Linked DNA regions of Homo sapiens: regions 1, 2, 3 and 5 are each linked to region 4. The links are contacts of gene promoters, found by promoter capture Hi-C in blood cells and fetal thymus (Javierre and others, 2016). All regions are on one chromosome and are shown on one strand. Each heading gives the region's core, a stretch centred on a gene start or on the middle of the fragment in contact. The rest is flanking DNA. Distances are from core to core; before and after follow the strand shown.

Region 1 (3,148 bases), core at 268-2,767, 750 kb before region 4:
CTCACCTGCAGTCTGAGGCAGGTAACTTGGGCAGCTGCCTCTGAGGTGGTGATTTCCCTGAGATGTGGGGGCAGGAGAGAATTGGACAACCAGAGGGAAGATTGGTCTAACTGCAGCAGATTGGGTAGATAAGATAAGTGAGGCCCTGAAATGATCACATGCAATGGAAAAGTTCTTTAAAAAAAAAAAAAATTTTTTTTTTTTAATTAGCAGTCATGGTTCTGAGGTTTGGTTCCATGTGCCCTTTCCGTGTACTGCCTTCCGAGGTCCTGATTCTCACAGTCCCTTATTGGTTCCAATGGCCCAGGACCCCAGTCCTTGCCACCAGCATGATGGATCTTGTGAGTAGTCCTAGTTCCTACTCAGACCTGATCCAAAGGAGAAGTGGGCAGAGACCCAGGTTCCAGCTCCAGCACCAGCTGCCTCTGAGCCATTTCTGCTTCCTACCAGGTGAAGCTCCTGGGAGGGAAGGGGCCCAGGACCTGGAATGATAAAGCTCCCTGGAAAGCCAGCCATGGCCAGTCTGCAGCCCCTGGGGACTCTGTGAGAGTCTGGATGCAGACAGGCCAGGGGCTGCCACCTCAGGAAAGCTGAGGACCTCAATGTCCACTGGGAAGAGATGGGAGGGAGGCATGGTTCTAGGAGGGTACTGCTGGTCTGCCCTTCCATTCATCTGGGAATCCATTTCCTTGTGGAAAGTGCAATCAGAGAGGTTCTTCACATCCTTACAACAGTCTTAGTGGCCCCTTCTCTTTGGACTCTCCCAAGATGCAAAGAGTGTTTCCGGAGATTAGTAGGCTCAAGAAGGGAGGGGAGTTAGCAATAAATTTTGAACAATCTTCAAACACTTTGGGTAGCTCTTAAGGATGAACTTGTTCAGCTTCTGAGACAGGTGTGTGACAAGTAAGACTGTGACTGATCTTCAGAAGAGCCCTGAGAACAGGAGATCACCAGCAGCCAGGAGCTGTGGAAGGTTGCCTTGGGGGAGCAGGGGTCCTGCTAACCCAGCATAACTTCTATTCTTAAGGTAGTACCCAGAGCAGAGGTTCCCAAAACATGAAACACAGATGAGCTCCATCAAAATCACCTGAAAGCTCCATCAAATTCACCTGGAAAGCATCGATAGCCAAAGCCTGCCCCCTCTGCAGCCTCCACCCACTGAATCAGAAGAGGGTCCCGGAGATCTGCATTTCACTCTAAAAGGCAACCTCCAGTGCTCCTTAGACTTGCTTAGAAAATACTGTAAATCTGAAGACTTATACAACTCTAAGTGTCTCAGAAACTCAGGGTGAAGAATCACAAGTTCTCTACTACCCTGCCCCATTTTTAATCACACTCATCACAGACCACAGAGCACCTGGCAAACCCAGGAACGGTGGGTTGAAGATATGTTTTCTTCTAGCAGATTAAGAGCTGAGCAGAGTTTCCTGTGCCCTGTGCTTCATTAGCACATTGGTGGTGTCGTTTCCGGTGACTGACTCTCTGTTTCCATTCTGGCAAAGTGGTTTGCTCTTTTCACTCTGCTTTGGGTGTTGAAGGAAGACGAGCTTCTCACGGAGCCTCTCTTGAGCCTCTTGGCAGTTTCCCCCTCTGTGCCCCTCACGTTTCCACCAGAAACGTGAAGGCAGAGGCCACAGATTCTCCCTGAGCCACCTCACTTGGAAGCACCATGTCCGGATGAGATCGCACTTCCTGCAGTGGGCATTAGCCACGTCCAGGTAGAACCAAACCTGTTGCTTTTGTATGTTGGGTCAACTTGGCCTGACGTTTCAGAGGTAGACACGAGATAGGGAGTTTGTTGCGGGGGTGGGGAGAAGTGGTAGACATGCTGGCTAACTGATTATGATTAAGAGAAACTTAGAAGCTGAAGCCAGAGAGCATCTCAAAGGTTCCTGATACAATGGATGGTGTCACTCCAACCCTTTCGACAATCAGAGGGAGGACCTTGGAGTCCAGCACTCTGCATGTGACTCCCCGCAGCCTGGACAGGTGAGTGACTCAGGGTGGTGAGCTCCACCCTGCCCTGATTTAGGCAGAAGGTCCTAGTCCACCCTTAGGAGCTTCTTACACAGCAGTGCTGCCACCTCTCAACACCCAGGCTCGGTCTACTAAACCACCAAACTCTAGGCTTGGAGGCATTTGCTCAGGGGTGCTAGGGGGAAAGGAAGGTATTGAGGAAAGAAAGAAAATATTGTGGTAGAGGAAAAACTGTGATAACACTGGCCCTTAAAGCTAGTTGCTTAGACTGGTTGGATTTCTCACCTCTCGGAGGCCCTGAACCCTATCATCAGTCTTTCCTAGGTGTCACCATGACAGAAACAAAAGGCTGAGTTTTCCAAGGATGTGTTTTGAGATCCAAAAACTTGTCATGAATAAAAAATGTAGTGATAGATGTAATAAAGATACGTCCTTAGGACGTAAAATCTTACAGAACTAATCATGGGTATGAATTACTGCTACTACTTTCAATCTCATACAAACAAAATTAAAAATCCATCCACAGTTGAAACTTTAAAAACATTGGCAGCTGACTGGGCGCGGTGGCTCACACCTGTAACCCCAGCACTTTGGGAGGCCGAGTGGGGCGGATCACCCCCACTCTTGAACCAGCCTGGCCAAGACCAGCCTGGCCAACATGGTGAAACCCCGTTTCTACTAAAAATACAAAAATTAGCCGGGAGTGGTAGCATGCTCCTGTAGTCCCAGCTACTCAGGAGGCTGAGGCAGGAGAATCACTTGAACCCGGGAAACAGAGGTTGCAGTGTCATGTCATTGTACTCCAGCCTGGGCAACAAAAGCGAAACTCTGTCTCAAAAAATAAAATAAAATTGCAGTCGTTTGGGGAAATAAATGTTATTATCATGGCAAACACATGTCACTTGCTGGTAGATATGAGCATCAATGAGCAATGAATCAGAAGCCTGAAGCATCTCTCCAAAACTATTTCTTCATTTATTTTTATTTATTTCTAATTGGCAAATCAAAATTATATATATTTATCATGATAGCCTGTTGTTTTGAAATATGTATACATTGTACAATAGCTACATTAAACTAATTAAGATACACATTACTTCACAATTTTCTTTTGTGGTGAGAATACTTAAAATTTCTCAGCAATTTTCAAGAATATGACACATTTTTATTA
Region 2 (3,622 bases), core at 257-2,756, 890 kb before region 4:
CAAAAAAAAAAAAAAAAACCATAAAGAAAAAAGAAATAGCAGGGTAAGAAAATGAAGAGGAAAAAGAGGACCCAAATGAGAGAACATTGGGAAGGGTGCTAGTTGGACACGGGGGAAACTGGACCCCGTTTCACAACCCTGTTTCTCCATGCACATGTGGCTCTGCTTCTTGGGGGCAGAGATGACAGCAAAGAAGGACAGGGGGTGGTGTGAGCTGTTGGGTTAGAATGATAGGATCAAAGAGGCCTTTTCCCAACCCTCTGTTTAAAAGGTTGGGAAGTAGTGGCCAGTCACCTTCTTCACAGCATAGCTCATAGCTATAACCTGTGAGACATATGTCAATGTGCCTTCCATAAGCATATAAACATGAGTGTGTTTGCTGAGGTAGGTGTGGGAATCTGTCAGTCAATGAAGATATGTTGTGTGAACCAGCTGATGGTGCATGTTTGTGCTTGAAAGCCATAAAGTTCTATGCAAAATCTATGGGTGGCACTGTTGCACAATGCTAGTGGGTGTGTGGGTATGGGGGTGTGATTAACTGTTTACAGGCTGTGTATAAGTGTGCATGGATGTCTGAGTGTGTGCAAATTAAAACGGAAATATGTGCCGGAGTATGATACAAAGTACAGGAAAGTACTCGGGCTTTGGAGTCTGTCTGACTTGGTCTTGAATCGTTGGCTCTGTCATTAGCCGGATGTATAACCTTGGGCCAGACACTCAATCTTCAATTCCCTCAACTAGGAAATGAGGTTAATAATAAGTACCTTTCAAGATTAAATGAGGACTAGAAACGATACCATATAGACAAAGCTTTTGGTGTCATAGCCCACGCATAGCAGGACTCAAAAGTAAGCAGCTATTTTCATGCACTGTCAGTATACCTCTGGTGGGTACAGGGACAAGAGGGAACAAAATGTGACCTGTATATAAGGTGTAGGGGAGGACGGGTGTGTGTGTGTGTGTGTGTGTGTGTGTGTGTGTGTGTGTGTGTGTGTTTACAAAACAATTTATTCTCCTTCTCCAAGGAACCCCCTATTCAGACAGGAGCAGGAAGGTAGGAGGGGACATACAAGTGTCCACAGACACCTCGGGTTTCTGGGTCCTGGATCTAAGTGAGTAAGGGGTTGAGAGGCCCGTAGGAGCTGCAGGAAGCCAGCCGCCTGCCCAAGCTTCCTTTTTTTTCCCCTCCGCCCAGCAACCGTTGAATACCGCCACCCACATCCACTCCCCACCTCCACCCTCACCCCTCCTCCACCCCTACTCAGCTTTCTATTCAACAAGTGAGAGCAAGGGCGGGGAAGAAAGCCGACAGGGGAGAGGATTGCTTCCCTTTCTTTTCCCATTCCCCCTTAAGACGAACCAGGAAGTAACCGCAAGAATCGGGCCACCTTAACAGTAGAGTAATGGTTTGGCCTCGCGCCAAGTCCCACCTCTGTTCCAGCTCCTGCTCCTCCCCTCTCTCTTCCCGCACTGCTTGGGGAGAGCTGGTGAGCAAGAGTCTGGCCCGAGTTAGCTAGAGCTGTTGCCATGACAAGCATTTTCTTAAGAAAGCTCTGCTGTTGAGATCGTCCAAAGCTGGGGGCTGGGAGGGGGGGCACGAACTTCGTGGGGCACCATCCCTCCGAAGAGAGCAAGATCAGAGACACCCGCCCAGCTCTCCTGCACCCTTTTTCTTTCAGGAACCTGAGAGGTCCTTCCCATTGGAGGGGCAGGGGGAGGAGACCCAGCCCACTCCCCGGCCTTAGCCAGAAAGGCAAGAGAGCAAAGCCAGCGTCTCTAGCTTGGTTGCCACACTGGGGAGACTGGTGGGTGGTCACCCCACCCTACCCTCATCCATGGAAACCCGGAGGGAGAGTCCCGCCTGAAGAAACCTGGATCTTTGCTAGAAAGAGAGGTAGGCTTGCAGAGAATGAATTGACTTGTGATTTGCAAACTTTGTTTCTTTCTTTTCTCTCAATGGCTTCTAAAACTCCCCGATTTTCCTCTTTCTAGAATATTTCATGCGACTGGGTTTGGAGGATTTTTTTTAAAATATGTGTGTGTGCACAGATTTGTCAAATACTGTTTTACCTATTATCAGTTCTGAGAAACCATATAGTCGAACAAGTGATTTATCTCTCTTTTCCTAGTTCTTGTCATTCCTGGGCTATGGGGTAGGGTAATGGAGGGTTCTCTTTTTGACACCAAAATTGAGCTCTTGGAAAAAATATTTATCTCCCCTCCCTCAACCCATTCCGTTCCTGCCCTCCCCTTCCCCCCTTGGCTTGGGAATGAGACGCAGGATGGAAAACTGTTGCAAAAATATTTTCCGTGTCTGTTCCCTTTCTCGAAAGCCCAAAAGAGAGATGGAAAAAAAAAAAAAAAAGGAACCAAAGAAATCTTCAGCAGAAAGAGGGGCTGCAGCGGGAACTAGGAGAGGGGCACTTTGGGGCCATGGGGTGGAGGTGGGCTGGGAGAAGTTGGCAGGAGTGGGGAAGGAGAGTGCACGAATTAAATTTCTTTAGCTTTGCAGAGAAACCTCAGCAGTTTCTCTGTGCTGCTTGCAAAACATCCTCAGACTTTCACATGTATAATTAGCTGTGGAAAAAGCTGGGAGTTACCTCGTACCGCTGTTGTTTGAGTGTGTGTGAGCGTCCAGAACCAACTGTATGAGTGTCTCCGAGGGCACCGCCCCACACATCTCTGGTCCCAAAGGGGAGGAAGGAGAAGGGTGAATTGAAAAGTTTCCGATGTCGAGGCTGGACACTGTGGGGCTGGTGAGTGTTTGGCAGATGGGGTGGGCCACAGGCATCTGTGGAAGGATCCCTGAGCGTCTCGGGCCACTGCCTTGGCTTGCTGAAGAGCTAGGAATTAAGACTGGGATTGTCCTTCCTGCTCTCCCTTCTCTCTTTCTTTTACATACTTGGCTCGCTCTTGGTAGAGGGGGCTGCTGGCATCCTTCCCCGAGTCGAGTCTGGCCTCTTACACTCCTCCACCTCCCTGAGGGTACCCGCCGCTCTTCTCCAACTGGGTGTGGAGGGTGCAGGAGTGGCCAGCCGCATCTTGGGAGGGGAGTGGGCACTCTGCTGCCAGAGGCACGTCCCTCCTGGGCATTCCTGCCGGACTTAACAATAACTTGCAGACGTGATGCCGGCGCCTGCTGGCCGGGCAGGGGGAATGTCAGATGAAGAAATAGGCCGGTACTCAACTGAGGCCCCTGTGGAGAGGGGAAAGGAGTGGGGGAGGGAAGGGAAACAAAATCCCATTCTGCAGCGCCCCCCTCCTCTGTGTGAGGAGTCTGGCAGGGAGTCTAGAGACCCTGGCCCTGCTCCTTAAGCCCCTCCCCAAGCTGCCCCTTCTCCACGCGCTTCCCATTGGAGGCCCTACTACGCCCCCTCCACTCTGAGCCCTCTACCTGGAGGAAGGAGACCAGGCTCATTCCAGGCTGGGCCAGGCCCAGGAAAGCAGCCTGGGAGTGACGAGGGGCTGGGCCAGGAGTGTTTAGGAAGAAGGGGAGTGGAAGAGGCCTCCTAGCCCATGTGCTGAGTTACCCTCCTTGGCTGAGGGTGGTGGCTTGGGGAGCAGACTCTGGGAGGGGCAGGAAGGATGGTGGCAGCTTGGTAAGGCGTGTTCTGGAAGGTGG
Region 3 (3,441 bases), core at 876-3,375, 720 kb after region 4:
GGAAGGCCCAGGATTGCCTCCCCCCCACCCCCTCCAGCCTAGGTAATATTCAGAGCAGCCCTCTATGTGGGCTCTGGGGGAACTGGTGACCGATGGGAAAGCATGTGGCAAACGAAACTCCCTGTTCTCCTGCCACATATTGAGTTCTAGATTAATTCCCAGCTGCCCTAGTTGTTCTAGTGGGAACTGTCTGGCAGGCTCAGTATTTACAGAATGTGCTTCTTTTTGTGTATCTAATTATGTCTTCACTGCCAATCCCATTAACAAGAATCTCCTTCAGCAAGGAGTTGAAATATCTGATAGGACCTAAATTTTGGGCTGAAGTTTTCAAAGTGTGGGGTTATCAGGAGCTGGGGAAAAGGGCTCAGGCAGCTTCTCAGTGGTGGTCTTAAAGGCCAACTCAGAACTCATTTCTGTTTTCATCTCTCCCTTAAGAAATGGCATCTGCCTTTGAAATCCCCATAGACTACTAGCATGCTACATTTTTGGAATGAGGCCATAGCTGGACAGGGTCCACCTTTGTCAGCCAAACACTTAAGTCTCTCTTCGTGTAAGAAGTTAGAACAAAGCTGTTGGGGGATAACAGGTATGTTTTGTGACTGTGCTAGAAAAACAGTTATTTGGCTGGGCGCGGTGGCTCACGCCTGTAATCCCAGCACTTTGGGAGGCCGAGGCAGGGGGGTCACGAGGTCAGGAGTTCGAGACCAGCCTGGCCAGCATGGTGAAACCCCGTCTCTACTAAAAATACAAAAAATTAGCCAGGCATGGTGGTGTGCCCGTATAGTCCTAGCTGCTCGGGAGGCTGAGGCAGGAGATTTGCTTGAACCCGGCAGGCAAAGGTTGCAGTGAACGGAGATCACGCCATTACACTCCAGCCTAGGCGACACAGCAGGACTCTGTCTCAAAAAAAAAAAAAAAAAAAGAACAGTTATTTTTAAACCAAATGACTAAAGGCTTCCTTATTCCAGCCAGGTTAACTGAGTGATGTCCACCAGGGAAAACAAATCTGGCTGTAAGGACATGAGCCCCCTCCCAAGCCCTCCCTAAGCCATTTGTGAAGACATCACATACATTCTGGCTCCTTGGTCTGTGTTCATCTCCTTCCAAGCCAACTCAATCTTGGCGGTTACTAAGATAATAGAGTGAGAAGAGGGTTTAAACTGCAGCAGGAGAAATCTGAGTTAGACACAAGAAAAGGCTGTTGGAGCATTTGAAATCTTTGTGAAAGGTTATGTCTTTGGAAAAGGTAGTCATCTAAGGATTAAAATCACCTTTGTAAGATGGATTTGTAGAGACTTGGATAGTGGCTGCTCAGAAAATAAATGAACAAATAATTTACCTAGCTGTCTTCCATGTTGGTGTTGAGGCCTCTGCCAGGTAATGTTAGGGACACAGAGATGTAGGAGCTGTAGCTCCTGCTGTCCAGTCACTCATATTGTCATCAAGGGTTCCATCCGTCAGCAGGTGAGAAGTTGGATAACAGTCAGACAAAGCACTAGAAGCGATGTCACAAGGCAGTACACGATTAATTGCAAAATGAGTGGTGCAGATAATGAGCGCTTATGTGTTCAGAGCAGGGCGAGATCGCTGCAGACTGGTGTGATCAGAGAGGGCTTTATGGAGTGGCGAGGTGGTGAAGGATGGGTAGGATGCAAAGAGGCAGAGAGAGGGCACGCCATGCTGGGAACTTTAATAAAAGTCTTCTATGTTGGTGTGTGCTGAATCAGTTCTGCCTAAAGACATGGTGGATGAGGTGACCTTTTCCCACTTGCTTTGGCTCCAGGCTGAATTCTCTAAGCAATAAAGGAAAGAGGAATCAAAATAAAATTGAGAATGGGGGAATTTTTTGCCCGTGTGCCCATGAGTTGAGTTTTTTTTTTAAAATTTCATCTGTGAGGCTGGGGAATAAATAAATGATTCCAAAAATCTTTCATCACTGGGTTTCCAGTAGAAACTCCAAGTGGGCCTGAACAGTTGCAGCTGCCTACTGTACACCACTGTGATCATCAGCGCCAAACCTGGGGTAATGGTTCCTCTCCTGCTCCCACTCAGGCTCCCCACCCAGAGCTTCTTAAGGGCAATTGGAGACTTCTTCAATCCACTTTGGATCCTAAGAGTAGAACTCTGTGGGTTTTTACAGTGATTAGTTCTCTAATGCTGGCCCTGTTTCCATAGAGACCCTATAAATAGAGGAATGTTGGCGACCTAGGCTGGCAAAGGCTCAGGGTGACCCAGTCACCCCACTGAACCCTCACAGCCAAACTGTTGGTAGGGCGGAAGGAGTTTCAAACCCAGGTAGGAGGAAGGGCTATGCAGTCAGCTGCCAGGTGGGATAATTAGCTATAGATTAGTGTGACTTTAAGCTTTCCTGGGATTTGTTGAGAACACACGTACCTGTAAAAATTAGAAACCACTTTTGGTCATTTTTAACCAGATGGTGCCAATGACACTGTACCCCAAGGCATTTTAGTTTTGTATTCATGCAGCTGTGTTTGCAGATTTTGGAGCAAACTTCCCCTTTGGGGGACCCACACCCAGGGAGAAAGACGGATGAAGCCCAACTGTTCAGAAACCACAGCCTTCTCAGGAAGGATCTTTCAGAAGCCATCTAGTCCTCCCTTTTTTCCTGAAAGGACAGTGCCACCCAAGGAGATGGGGCTCTTCCTGCCCTTTCAGATAGTTCCAGGGGAGGGACAGCCAACTCCCCTCACTTCCTTCCCCGGGGCACCTCACCCTGGGAGGCTCTCCTTTCTGACTACCTTATGGCCAGTTCTGGGGACGGCACTTCTTGCTTCGGTCTTACAGATCATGAAAGCCCTGTTTGTTTGCCACCTCTAACTCTGAAGCATCTCAGCTCTCTAATGCATGGCTTCATTTGGCCACCAAAATGGTTTCTGGCAGCCAGGGAAAAGCAAAAGTCAATGTGGAAAAGCAAGTGACATTTTAGGAGCTGGAACCTGTTAGTCAGAGCAGGTGGTGCTTTCTGCTGCGTTGGCGGCTAAGTTCCCTTAAGCTAGTCACCATGGTTTTCCTCACTTCTGAAACTTGTAGCTGGTTATGTGTATGTGCTGAGTTTTTTTTTTTTAAAACACTTACTGTGTTATGTCAAAACTCCTTAACCATCTCCTCCCTGACACCCACATGCAGAAGCGGCCCAGCCCTTGCGTCACTTTGCTGTTCCCGCCTCGCACCTTATCAGTGAGGAAAAACCCCTTCATTTGGAGTAATCTCCTCTCTCTGCACCTTGTTCTTTGACTTCCTTTTTGTTATTTCCCTCCTGCCTGCCTCAGACTTTAATAGATTCCTCGGTCTGCTGGGACAAAGGTCCTGGGGTCTCCTGGTCACTTTCCCTAGGTTTCCTTCAGCTGCAGGACAGCTCAGGGAGGTGGGAAGTAAAGACTTTATAGTTGAGGGTCTTGTCCCATAACATGGGATGGGCAG
Region 4 (3,540 bases), core at 769-3,268:
AGATGGTGTTCTCGCTTTCTTGCCCAGGCTGGTCTTGAACTCCTGGGCTTAAACGATCCTCCCACCTTGGCCTCCCAAAGGGTTGGGATTACAGGTGTGAGCCACTGCACCTGGCCTCAACAAATACCTGTTGATCTCACACAAACTGAATTGCATGAACAGATCATATTCCAAGGCTCCAGGAGACATTAGGAAAGGATCCAAACTAACCAGATGCTATTTAAAAGTTACAAAAAAAAAATTCCTGTTGAAAGTTTTAAAAAATACTAATTGCACAAAAGGACAGGGGAAATAGTTGACAGTGGTTCACCTAAAAAAGCACCCTTGACCTTTTTTTTTTTTTTTTTGTGAGTGAGGTGGTTGCAGATTTCTATGAAAAAGAAGTTAATTCTTCAGCTCCTTAATGGAACCCTGGATCTCCCAGCTATGCAGGAGGTTATGCTAGAAGTAGAACAAAGCGGAATGTACAAATTTAAGGAAGGTTACTGCCCTGTGTTCTTTTGCATGGGTCTGTATCTAGCATTGGGAGCCAGGTTTTGTTGTTGCTTATTGGGAGAGATAAGAATGGTATATACACAAATAACTAAAAAAAAAATACGTGGTAAATGCTAAAAGACAGGTGCAAAGAACACTGAGATGGAGCTTTCTTGGGTTACACAGCCAGTTTTAATGTTTCCTAATATAGAAGAGCTTTCAACAAACCTCTCAGGCAGGCTGTCTTCAAATGACATTACTTCCCCCAAATACCTAATTTCATTTATTTCAGAACAACTCTAAATGTTAGAGGATTTTCTGAGCTTAAAAATACTGCCTTGTAATTTCTATTGGTTTTAGTTCTGCACTTTGGAGAAGAGAATAAGGCTCCGTTATTTCCAATATTATACTATTCAGTTATTTGAAGACAGCTTCCAATTTCTATGCTCAACCCTTTCCCTCTTTTTTTTTTTTTTTTTTTTTGAGATGCAGTTTCGCTCTTGTCGCCCAGGCTGGAGTGCAATGGCGCTATCTCGGCTCACTGCAACCTCCGCCACCCGGGTTCAAACGATTCTCCTGCCTCGGCCTCCTAAGTAGCTGGGATTACAGGTGACCGCCACCATGCCCCGCTAATTTTTTGTATTTTTAGTAGAAACGGGGGTTTCGCCATGTTGGGCAGGATGGTCTCGAACTGCTGACCTCAGGTGATCCGCCCGCCTCGGCCTCCCAAAGTGCGCTGGGATTACAGGGGAGAGCCACTGCGCCCGGCCTCCCTCGTTTATATGCAGGTTAAAAACTCCCTTGAGCCTTCAACTATTTCTTTTTCTTTTTTTTTTTTTTTTTTGAGGAGTTTCGCTCTTGTTGCCCAGGCTGGAATGGCGCTATCTCGGCTCACTGCAACCTCCGCCTCCCAAGTTCAAACGATTCTCCTGAGTAGCTGGGATTACAGGCATGCGCCACCACACCCGACTAATTTTGTATTTTTAGTAGAAACAGGGTTTCACCATATTGGTCAGACTGGTCTCGAACTCCTGACCTCAGGTGATCCGCCTGCCTTAGGCCTCCCAAAGTGCTGGGATTACAGGCGTGAGCCACAGCGGCTGGTGCTTTCAACTATTTATTTGACATGGCTTCAAGCTTCCTTGCCACCCTAGTGCCGCCATCGCTCCGTTTCCCTTCCCTACCACCCTTGGGGAGTAAGGGTGAGGACTGGGGAATGGCAGAGGAAGCGTAGTTTTTCCGAAGAGCTGAAGGCAGCCTGTGATTATGACCTTAGCTCTTCCTCTTCTCTGTTTTCTGATCTCCTAATACACGTCTGTAAATATCACAAGACCCTGCAAGTCCCTCACTTATTATCTCTTCAAATCTGACGACTTTCAACCGTTCGGGCCCCACGACTCTCTCCCCGGACTAGGATCTACTCTATGGTAGTGAGCTCAGCCTTTCTAGCTCTCTAGTCCTCCCATTGCTCCATCTATGGTTTCCGGAGGCCTCACCGGAAGCCCTCGTGTGAGGCCGTGTGGGAGGCCGGAAGTTGCGGCTTCATTACTCGCCATTTCAAAATGCTGCCGAGGCCCTAGGATCTGTGACTGCCACCCCTCCCCCCACCCGGGCTCGGCGGGGGAGCGACTCATGGAGCTGCCGTAAGGTGTGGCTCTTGGCCTTCGTCGGCGGGGTGCCGGGAGCGGGAGCTGGAGAGTGAGGAGCAGGCGGCCGTACCGCCAGTTGTGCGGGTAGCGGGCGGGAGGAGCTTGAGAGGTGGGTCGGGCGGCGTGGGGAAGGCCGCGCCAGGCGGAAGAAGGGCTCGGGGGGAGGGGAAGAGTTGTGGGATGAGGGCTCGCGGAAGATAAAAGTGGAGGTGGGGTGACGTGAAGTAACTTTGGCCAACAGGTGACAAACCTAAAGTCGACGTAGTTGGATTGAGTTTAACTGGACACAACATTTGAGGACTGTTGAGGCAATTTGGAGAAAGGAGGTGGGAGAGAGGGAACCGGGTAGAATGACATTGACGTGTCTTAAGTTTTTAAGTTAGTTTTTAGGTCTGCGGACAGTCTACCTTAGAGGCACTTGAGTGCTTGTTTGAAAATGCTTGTTTTGGCTTGGCGCGGTGGCTCACGCCTGTAATCCCAGCACTTCAGGAGGCCGAGGTGGGTGGATCTACCTGAGGACAGGAGTTCGAGACCAACCTGGCCAACCTGGTGAAACCCCGTCTCTAGTAAAAATACAAAAATATTAGATGTGTGTGGTGGCGCATGCCTGTAATCCTAGCTACTCGGGAGGCTGAGGCAGGAGAATCACTTGAATCCGTGGGCGGGGGTTGCAGTGAGTCGAGATCGCGCCACTGCACTCCAGCTTGGGCTACAGAGGGAGATTCCGTCTCAAAAAAAAAAAAAGAAAAAATGTTCGTTTTGGGGCCACACTGAAACCTACAGACAGTATCGAGATGGGGCTCAGAGAAATATATTTTAATGAGCACACCTCCCAGTGATTTTTGTATACCTTAAAGCTTGAAAACCACAGGTTTTTTTGGTTGTGTTTTTGTTTTGTTTTTGTTTTTTTTGAGTGGAGTTTCGCTCTTTTTGCCCAGGCTGGCGTGCAGTGGCGCGATCTTGGCTCACTGCAACTTCTGCCTCACGGGTTCAAGTGATTCTTCTGCCTCAGCCTCCCGGGTCGCTGGGATTACAGGTGTGCGCCACCACGCCTGGCTAATTTTGTGTTTTATTAGAGATGAGGTTTCACCAGGTTGGCCAGGCTGTTCTCGAACTCCAGACCTCAGGTGATCCGCCCACCTCGGCCTCCGAAAGTGTTGGGATTACAGGCGTGAGCCACCGTGCCCGGCCGAAAACCACAGTTTAAAAGCAACACCCGGAGAAAATGCTGCAGCTCTGTGCTGTTGGCACGTGGAACTAGTATCTGTCAAAGATACTTGGAACCTCTTGGTGTTAAGTATTACTGTATCTCAGTTTAGATTTAGTCTTCTCTCTCCTCATACATTTTTTTTTTAATAGATGGGATTTCGGCCAGGCCCAGTGGCTCACACCTTTAATCCCAGCACTTTGGGAGGCC
Region 5 (3,149 bases), core at 105-2,604, 810 kb after region 4:
AGTAGCTGGGACTACAGGCGTCCGCCACCACGCCCGGCTAATTTTTTGTATTTTTAGTAGAGACGGGGTTTCACTGTGTTAGCCAGGATGGTCTCGATCTCCTGACCTCACGATCCGCCCGCCTCGGCCTCCCACAGTGCTGGGATTACAGGCGTGAGCCACCGCGCCCGGCTATCTCACCGCAAGTTCTATGTGTTAGGAGCAATATAAGTTCATATTTCGATCTTATTCAATCCTCACAGCAGCTTGTGAGGCAGGCTGTGTTTTCTACAGTTCTGCAAAAGGGGAAACAAAGTACAGAGATGAAGGAAATTGCCCAAGGTCACACAGACTGCTAGACTCCTACGCTCGCACCAAAGTAACAGGGCATGTTCTTGAAAAGGCCCCCAAACCGAAAGGTGTCTCTGGTACAGTGGACCTGGTTTCACATTTTCCAGAATCAAAAACTCATCATAATGAAATTTCAACTAAATTTTAGAGCTGGAAAGGACCTAAATGTCAAAACCCACCCCGTGCCAGAGCTCCAGTGTGCTGGGTTGCCAGATTCTTGGAGTTGGGGAAATCCACACCTCATCCATTCATTCAACCACACACATATTTACCAAATACCTATTAAGATGGGGTGCCTTCTACTTCCTCTTTCCATTGCACTCTATTGAACAGTCTTTTCCCAGCAAAACTCAACTTAAGTCCCATCCATCTTATCCCAGGACACGACACGATTCGTTTTTCCGCGCCAACTATCCATAGCCTCCCTTTTATTTGGCAATCATCACAGCAGTACGGTGTTGCTGGCTGGGGTTCGCAAGTTTGCGACCACTGTCCCTGCAATCACGGACTGACACATCTGCCAGGGACACCCCGCAGTAGCCCCGCAAGCTCAGCGCGGTAAAGACCACGCTGGCCTCTCCGCCGAGCAACGAGCGAGCCGCCGCCCGCCCTCCTCCGCTCCCTGCCGGCGGCCAAGCCGGAGCCCGCCCCGCGCCGCGAGAGGGAGCCGCACTCACCAGGCGCCCCGAGCTCTCCCGCGCCTTCTTCACCTTCCCGTAGGTGCCTTTGCCCAGGGTCTCCAGGAACTCGTAGCGGTGCCGCAGGTTGTGCTTGTGGTGGTGCCGCTTCACCGCCTGCTTCTTCATTAGGGGCTTGGGCGACTTGATCAGCCCTTCCGCCAGCGGCCGGGCTAGCTCTGCGGCCGAGGGAGTGGGGCCGGAGCGCCGCGCGAAAACCAGCGACTCCATGGCGAGCAGGAGGTGAGCAAGGGCGGCAGGGGAATCAGTAGGCTGTGCGGGGAGGGCTGAAGCGCGGGGCACAGGTCCCGCACCAGGACGGGGAGCCACAGCAGTACCAGAGCGCGCAGTAAAGCACAGCATTCCAAGTTGTTATAAACGCCCTGAGCCCGAGGCCCTGGACACGCCCCCCGGCGCCCATTGGCCTGCTCGACGGCGGCGCGTGACCACGGCCGTCCACATTGGCTCTCCGGGGCTCCAGGCCCCGCCTCCTCCCCCTCGGCGTGGCCGGGAAAGGTGTCAATGGAACCCGCCCACCAGGAATGGGGACTAGGGGATTCCAGCGAAGGCCGCCTGAGGCCCAGAAGCTTACTCTGAGGGCCCTTGGAGCTGCACTTGCCTCTGAGTGGCGCTTGGTCCTGCTTAATGCCCTGTTGTTTTATTGTACTCTGTTCTCAGTTGGCAAGGGGCGATCTGAGGGCACTAAAGGTCACCAAAGTATTTCTTCATCCTGAGTAATTTGCTTGTCCCAAGCCAAAATCTATAATTGCTTGACCACTTCATTGAGTCCATAAAGGAGAAAGGGAGCTGGGATGGAACAGAGGCAGAATCCAGCCTAGTGGGAGGGTTAGTGCAGAGCTGTCCTATGGTTCGAGTTCACTTGTCTTCAGTTAGATCAACCTTACTTGGATATTGGAATCCAATGGCCCTGGAAACTTCTTCCTTCTTCCTCAAAGAGGGCTTCTTAGGCGAATCGCTTGAGGTCCAGGAGTTCAAGACCAACCTAGCCAACATGACGAAATCCCATCTCCACTAAAGATACAAAATTAGCCGGGCGTGGTGGTGCGCGCTTGTAATCCCAGCTACTCTGGAGGCTGAGGCAGAAGAATCGCTTGAACCCAGGAGGCAGAGGTTTCAGTGAATCAAGATGGCGCCACTGCACTCCAGCCTGGGCAACAAAGTGAGGCTCCGTTTCAAAAAAAAAGAGGGCTTCTAAGGTTTAGTAGATTCCCTCAACCACTTAGTGGAATTTATTTAGGATGTGTCGGCTGGAGGTGGAGAGAACCCGAAGGGATACATATTTATTTAACATTTTTACATGCCGACTATCTAACCTGTGTCCCTAAGTCTGAAAATGGTTGCTCCACCCAAGGTTTTCTTGTGATTTTGGTGCCAGGAGCACTGGTGGTAGGTTATGAGGTTTGACTTGAGACGGAGTCTCCCTCTGTCGCCCAGGCTGGAGTGCAGTGGTGCGATCTCTGCTCACTGCAAGCTCCGCCTCCCGGGTTCACGCCATTCTCCTGCCTCAGCCTCTCCGAGTAGCTGGGACTACAGGCGCCCGCCACCACGCCCGGCTAATTTTTTGTATTTTTAGTAGAGACAGGGTTTCACCATGGTCTTGATCTCCTGACCTCGTGATCCGCCCGCCTCGGCCTCCCAAAGTACTGGGATTACAAGCGTGAGCCACTGCGCCCAGCTTGACTTAGTTTTTGAGGCCTGGAGTTGCTAGGTCCAGAATCTCCACTCTGAGTGCTCATTTACAGTGAAATGAGAATGGCCATAGGTTTTCCTTCTTGCTTTAAATGGCAGAAAGGGAACATTTCCCCTTTGGCCATCTTGATAACCTAATCCTGTGAAATGAGTATTATTCTGTCCAAGGCCACACAACTGGTAATAAAGTGGCGGGATTTAGACCCTGGTCCTGAGGAAGAGAATAGAGGACAATAGACCTGGATCCTCTTCCCTGAGGGAAACCCCTTCTGCCAGCCAGTTTAGGGCCCTGGATGGATTCTAGCTATGCTGGAGAGCCAGCCTTCCCCTCAGGCCTTCAGGAGGATGGTGCCTCCCCTGTGTATCCAGGGCATGCTGAGGATGGAGAAGGACCCACCCCCAGTGGCTGCCCACTTTTCTACTTCCACTGAT

Evidence for each region. The method cuts DNA at HindIII sites, captures the fragments that hold promoters and counts their contacts. A CHiCAGO score of 5 or more calls a contact.
Region 1: a contact is called between the fragment with the promoter of LAX1 here and the fragment with the promoter of MDM4 in region 4, in 1 of 17 cell types (naive CD8 T cells). The highest score is 5.4, in naive CD8 T cells.
Region 2: a contact is called between the fragment with the promoter of ATP2B4 here and the fragment with the promoter of MDM4 in region 4, in 4 of 17 cell types (naive CD8 T cells, fetal thymus, activated CD4 T cells and 1 more). The highest score is 8.1, in naive CD8 T cells.
Region 3: a contact is called between the fragment with the promoter of TMCC2-AS1 here and the fragment with the promoter of MDM4 in region 4, in 1 of 17 cell types (M1 macrophages). The highest score is 8.5, in M1 macrophages.
Region 5: a contact is called between the fragment with the promoter of NUAK2 here and the fragment with the promoter of MDM4 in region 4, in 10 of 17 cell types (naive CD4 T cells, total B cells, activated CD4 T cells and 7 more). The highest score is 9.5, in naive CD4 T cells.

Annotation. Positions count from the first base shown.
Region 1 is chr1:203,763,666-203,766,813 of GRCh38, forward strand. LAX1 (lymphocyte transmembrane adaptor 1) reads left to right here and starts at 1,518. Exons shown (of 5, transcript NM_017773.4): 1 at 1,518-1,989. The coding sequence starts at 1,901. RefSeq lists an enhancer at 1,401-1,760. The HindIII fragment of the contact is 21,277 bases long and covers 1-3,148 here.
Region 2 is chr1:203,625,326-203,628,947 of GRCh38, forward strand. It overlaps ATP2B4 (ATPase plasma membrane Ca2+ transporting 4), which reads left to right and starts at 1,507. Exons shown (of 21, transcript NM_001684.5): 1 at 1,507-1,894. RefSeq lists enhancers at 501-1,375, 1,376-2,248. The HindIII fragment of the contact is 13,651 bases long and covers 1,168-3,622 here.
Region 3 is chr1:205,235,166-205,238,606 of GRCh38, forward strand. It overlaps TMCC2-AS1 (TMCC2 antisense RNA 1), which reads right to left and starts at 2,126. Exons shown (of 3, transcript NR_183258.1): 1 at 2,019-2,126; 2 at 1,340-1,793. All of the region lies in intron 1 of TMCC2 (transmembrane and coiled-coil domain family 2), which reads left to right. The HindIII fragment of the contact is 7,142 bases long and covers 1-2,361 here.
Region 4 is chr1:204,514,388-204,517,927 of GRCh38, forward strand. It overlaps MDM4 (MDM4 regulator of p53), which reads left to right and starts at 2,019. Exons shown (of 11, transcript NM_002393.5): 1 at 2,019-2,122. RefSeq lists enhancers at 501-1,412, 1,273-2,472, 1,413-2,323, 1,762-1,891, 1,902-1,981 and 1 more. The HindIII fragment of the contact is 1,369 bases long and covers 1,610-2,978 here.
Region 5 is chr1:205,320,391-205,323,539 of GRCh38, forward strand. NUAK2 (NUAK family kinase 2) reads right to left here and starts at 1,355. Exons shown (of 7, transcript NM_030952.3): 1 at 1,008-1,355. The coding sequence starts at 1,238. RefSeq lists a silencer at 862-1,041. The HindIII fragment of the contact is 5,000 bases long and covers 1-1,592 here.